Regions from separate parts of the Homo sapiens genome. Here region 1 is linked to region 2. The links are contacts of gene promoters, found by promoter capture Hi-C in human tissues and cell types (Jung and others, 2019). All regions are on one chromosome and are shown on one strand. The core of a region is centred on a gene start or on the middle of the fragment in contact, and the rest is flanking DNA. Distances in the headings are between cores, read along the strand shown.

Region 1 (2,932 bases), core at 411-2,910, 36 kb after region 2:
GGAAAGTACTTTACCAGAGCCTTATCTGTTCTAGGGAAAGGGCAATTAGAAGATTCCAGCCCCCTCTAGCCTTCCCGTTGTTAGTGGTAGTGAATCTGCAGGGGGCTGCAGCAACCTCAATTCTTGTCAGAAGAAAGAATTCGACCAAGGGTCATAAGGAAGAGTGAGAGACCAAGGCAAGTTTTAGGGCAAAAGGAAAAATTTATTTAAAAGCTTTAGAGGTGGAACAAAAGGAAGTAAAAGTACACTTGGAAGAGGGCCAAGCAAGCGCCTTGAGAGATCAAGTGCGTGGTTGGACCTTTGATTTTGGGTCTTACATGTTGACATGCTTCCAGGGTTGCATTATTTCTTGCTAATTCTTCCCTCAGGGTGGGCTGTCTGCATGCTCAGTGGCGTGCCAGCACTAGGGCGGGGCTGTATGCATAGTGTGTTTACTGGAGTTGTATGCATGCTCACTTGAAGCATTCTTCTCTTACCCATCAAATGTTCTTAGAAGGTCATATACCAGTTAAACTCTGCCATTTTGCCTCTTAGTGCACATGCTTGAACCCACTTGTCCAACTCCTGAGATCTTATCGGCAAGCCGTTGATCACCAGTTTCAGGGTTTTTTTTTTTAATTAGGAGACTGCCTTTCCCTAGTGCCAGCTGTGACCAATTATTATCAGACTACATTTTATTTAAAAGGAGTCTCTGGGGATACCCAAAGACAATGACAATGTGGAAACTCAAAGCAAGAATAGTAGATTGAAGCCTCTGACACTGATAACTACAGCAAACATTAAACACAGCCTAACTTCTAGTCAGATTGACATGAATCAAGTAGCCTGATTACCTCAGTTTCTATATATTCTTCCAGATATATTATGTCTGGCTTTCAACAAAGATTTACAAAGCACGGTAAAAGGCAAGAAAGAACAAGAAACAAAGGAAATATCAGAACCATTCTTACATATGATGCAGATTTTGTAATTCTCAAGTAGGGAATTTAAGGTAGCTATGATTGATATATAAGGGCTCTAATGGAAAAAGCAGATAGCATACAAGAGTGAATGGGTAATGTAAGCAGAGATATGGAAACTCTAAGGAAGATATAAAAGGAAATGATAGAAGTCAAAAAACAATGTGACAAATGAATGCCTTTGATGGGTTTATCAGGAGACTGGACAGGCCAAAGAATAAATGAGCTTGAAGAACTGTTAATAAAAACTGAAAAGCAAAGAAAATAGAGATGAAAAAGTAGACTATCCAAGAACTGCTGGACAGTTATAAAACTTGTAATAACATGTATAATGGTAATACCAGAAGTAGAAGAAAGAGAAGAGAGTAGAAGAAATATGTGAGAAATAATGGTTGGGAATTATCCAAAATTAATGACACCAAACCCGTTCTTAGAGCAGGAAGCTTGGAGAACACCAAGCAAGATAAATACTAAAAGGTCTGTACCAGGGGTGCCCCTGGGCTACCCTGGGAAAAGAAGAATTGTCTTGGGCCACACATAAAATGCAGTAACGCTAACAATGGCTGATGAGCTTAAAAATTGCAAAAAAAACCTCATGCTGTTTTAAGAAAGTTTACAAATTTGTGTTGGGTTGCATTCAAAGCCGTCCAGGGCCGTATACAGCCCGCAGGCTGTAGGTTGGACAAGCTTAGTCTGTACCTAGGCATATTATATTCAAGATGGGAAAACCAAAGTCAAAGAGTCATTGAAAGGAGCCAGAGGAAAAAATACATGCTATAGAGGAACAAGAAAAGAATTATATTTCTGATTAGAAACCAAGCAAGAAGGGACTGGAGTGAAATATTTACAATGTTGAAAGAGAAATCACACCAACCTAGAATGTATCCACAAGAATTACCTTTCAGAAGTGAAGGAGACTTAAAGATTTTCTTAAACAAAAGCTAAGGAAATTTGTCAGTGATAAACCTGTGTTGCAAAAAATATTAAAATAAGTTCTCCAGAGGGAAGGAAAATGATCCAAGGTCATGAACTTGGATCTATATAAAGGAAGAGCATCAGAGAAGGAATAAATGAAGGCAAAATAAAATCCTTAATGTATATGTACCTAACAACAGAGCATCAAATATGTGAAGCAAAAATTGATAGAACTGCAAAGAGAAATAGACAAATTCACTATTACTCTTGGAGACTTCAACAACCCTGGATCAGTAATTGACAGTTTCAGCATGCAGAAAATCAGTAAGAATATAGTTGAACTGAATTGTACCATCTGTCCACTGGATCTAATTGGTATTAATAGGACACGTCAACAATAGCAGAATACACATTTTTCTGAAACACTCCTAGAACATTTACCAAGATAGAGCACATTCTAGGCCATAAAACACCCCTTAACAAATGTAAAAGAATAGAAATTATACAAAGTATGTTCCTAGATCACAATGGTATTTAATTAGAAATTTGTAACAGGAAAATACTTGAAAAATCCTAAAATATTTGGAGATTAACAGACATATTTCTAAAATAACACTTGGCTCGAAGTTTCAAGAGAAATTTAAAAATATTTCAAACTAAATGAAAGTGAAAATACAATTCATCAGAATTTGTAGAATTCAACAAGAGCAGTGCTTACAGGGAAACGGAGAGTACTGAGTACATGTTGGAAAAGAATGATCTAAAATCTATTATGTAAGCTTTCACCTTAAGAAACTAGAGAAAGAAGAGCAATATATAGGCACACCTAAGAGATACTGTGAGAAATTGCTATCTATGGCTACTAAAGCCTTATGAAATGTATTTCTTATACAATAAGACTTGAAAGTTGAAATTACTCCTTGATCCATGGGCTGCGGAATGGATGTTGTGTTGGTAGACATGAAAACATTAATCTCCTTGTACATCACCATCCGAGCTCTTGGGTGGCCCTGGCCAAGCATCAGTTAGCACTAATGTATTGAAAGGAACTTTTTTCT
Region 2 (2,951 bases), core at 202-2,701:
CAAAGGGAGGCTTGGCCAAGGTGCTGAATTAAACACCTGATGGTAAACTCATTGAGGTCCAGTGACAGCCAAGCACCACTGACACTCACAGCCTTAAACTGAGAACATTCTACAAACCCCCGGCAGAAGGGTAAAAGATTTTACACTCAGCTGCCATTTCTGCCTTTTCAAAACTGCTTCTTGTTCTTGTCCTCACTCACTCAGGGGTATGGCCACAGCAGAAAGGAATGACCTTGCTCAAATAGGGAGTCCAGGTATCCCATTTGAGGAGGTGTAATTCATTTTCCCCCACATGACTCACTTTAGTGCCTTAGCTACTTTGAAGTAAAGACAGAACACAACACTTAGGAGCACCATCGCGGCAACCAGTAAGCTGCTTCCGATGCCGATCATGATCTTCGTCCTGAGATCAAACATCTTTGCCATGCCTAAGGAGAAAGTGCAGGGAAGCAGAACGTGGCCTTCCTCCCCACACAGCCACTAAACAACCTTCCGTTAGTAGAGGAAGAGTGAACCCCAGACACATGTAAACTGCAAGCAAATCTTTCCAGAGAGTCCTAGGATCCTAAGCTGGTCCAGGGGCAGACAAAAGGACTTATTTATGGGTAAAAATGGACTTAAATGCAAACTCCAGAGGGAAGGAAATCATAATGACAGACAGTGGGAAGAATCTTTCCCTCTCACAGGCATGATGTGCAGCTGGAAATGACCACAGGCCTGCCTTGGAGCTGATGACTTCACTCCCCACCACCTGGGCCCTGAAATATGTTCACTCAGAGGGTCAGAAGTCACCCCTCACTGTATATTAGGTTTAAAATTATTTTATGAAACTAAGAGAATTAGTTTAAAAAGTATTGTCCAACAATACTGAGAATATGAAAATCTATTTTGTAAGTGATAAGTATTTTGGGAAAAACAGTTTTCAATTTTCCCACCAACAACTGGGTTATCTCAGGGTTTAAGGAGATTCCTGACACTTCCAGCCAAACCTTTGCCAGGGCTCAGAAATGGGACGTGGTCTGCAGAGACCAGGAGCCAGCTTATTCAGGAGCCCCTGTCCCTCATTCTGTCTTCCTAGTAGACCATAGGCCTACCTCTGCCATTTTTCCTAGTAAATACTAAATTCTCCCAGGAAACCCAATTTGTTTGGAATAAGTAATTTGCTTAATCTAACACTGTGAAACTGAGGAACAGTGAGCCAGGAGAGAAGAATAACCAATCTGATAGCTAAGCATACTTACTACAGTTCAACCATCCAGAGCTAGATGAAGGCCAATTGTAACAATAAAATTAAGGGAAAAAAACCTCTAGGGCATCGGATATTTGGAACTTCTCAAACCTGTAATCTGAGAAAGAGGGACCTAATTATCCCTGCTAGGAGTAATTAAGATCCAAGGTTGAACAGCTCAGCTCACTTTTGGAAGCTCAGGCTCAGCCAGAGCTGGTAGAATGGGCCTATTCTGACATTCATGCCACAGGCTGTGTGACATCAGCTCTCGGGACACCAGCTGTCTTTCATGGAGTTCTGAATTCTATTCCATAGGTATATTTTTGCTTTTGTGAAATATAAATACTATTTTGAATCACTTAATTCTAAGTCTTTCACCTTTTCAGGTCTTATTTCCCTTCCATTAATTTTTGGAGTTTGACTGCTAATCAAAATCAAGTTTGAGATTTCAATTTAGCAAATAAAAGAAAAAGAAATGTGGGAAGGGTAAAATAACCTCACATTTAAATTTCAATTATAGAAGACTGGTTAGACTTTAGATTTTAGTTGCACAATGAAATAATATGGAGCCGTTTACTAGGATTCAAGCACACTTCCATTGACATGGGAAGATTTTAATGCTTTATAGTTAAAAAAAGTACAAAAATGAAAGTTGAACAGGATATCTGTTCTAGTCTGGTTTGTATGATTTTAAGGTACTTATATCCAGCCAGTGTAGTAAAATTAAATGAAGAGACACCAGGTTCAAGGAAGATTGTGTAGACATGTTTCTCCCTGCTAAGCATAACTATTATTCCTGGAAATAACACAAATCAAACAAAGGAGAACTCTGAAATTGGAAAGGAGAAAGCAAACTACTAGGGACCCCAGGCCTGGGTAAGCTCCATAGCAGTAGAACAGGGGAGGTAGACAGGCCTGGTGTTTTCCAATGCTCAATCTAGCTTATTCCATTCCCGGATTTAATGTGAGTCCTGCTGACAACCCCAGGCTTTCCCAGCAGCAGTGGCAAGTTGGGTGGATTGTGAACCCCATTGGCAATAAGCCTGCAGGGGAAGTGCTCATCTTCCTTGCTAGTCATGAGACTCCCCTCCTCAGACCCTGCAGGGATCTGACCACATTCAGTGACCTAGCCCAGGAAGCACTCTGTTCCCATGTGCTAGAGACCCCCCTGGACTCCAGGTGGCTCCAGCTTGGGGACCCTCCTTCTGTCCCTCAGGCAGCACTTTCGGGGACCTAGAAGCCCCAGTGACACCAGATAAATGAAGTAGACCAAAATATCACCACGAAACCTCTGAAAATTAAATTGGAATTGGAATCTAATCCCACAAAAGTAAGCCAGGATCTGCATGCTAAACCTAGTCAGTGACTAACTAATAAAATAAAATATTTAAATAGGACCTAGAGTCTCCTAGCATAAAGTCAAAATGTCCATGATTCAATGAAAATGGTATTACGGGTATTATCGCCCGTAATACCAATAACCAGAAAAGTCACGCCCGAATGAGAAGAGACAATGAATTGATGTCCTGAGCATGGAATAAGTTTGGTGTGGTCAAGGAACAAGAAAAAGGCCATTTGACTGGAGATGCATAAAAGCGAAGATGGCAGGAGAGGACTTGGAAAAAATTGGCCAAGGATACCAACATGCAGGGCTTCGAGCTCTAGTATAATCTTAGATTTTTTTTCTGCCTGTTACAGAACATCCTTGGAAGATGTTGATTGG

The links. The method cuts DNA at HindIII sites, captures the fragments that hold promoters and counts their contacts. A contact is called where the count stands out against the background at its distance.
Region 1: a fragment that was not itself captured here is called in contact with the fragment with the promoter of FAM24A in region 2 in 1 of the 25 tissues and cell types used here (heart left ventricle).

What each region holds. Positions count from the first base shown.
Region 1 is chr10:122,873,434-122,876,365 of GRCh38, reverse strand. All of the region lies in intron 1 of FAM24B (family with sequence similarity 24 member B), which reads left to right. All of the region lies in intron 1 of FAM24B-CUZD1 (FAM24B-CUZD1 readthrough), which reads left to right. Among named protein-coding and RNA genes, the nearest start is that of FAM24B, 4.7 kb to the left of the region's middle. RefSeq lists enhancers at 1-55, 56-576. The HindIII fragment of the contact is 4,775 bases long and covers 1-2,932 here.
Region 2 is chr10:122,909,110-122,912,060 of GRCh38, reverse strand. It overlaps FAM24A (family with sequence similarity 24 member A), which reads right to left and starts at 1,451. Exons shown (of 3, transcript NM_001029888.3): 1 at 1,242-1,451; 2 at 302-428. The coding sequence starts at 426. RefSeq lists a silencer at 1-168. The HindIII fragment of the contact is 31,400 bases long and covers 1-2,951 here.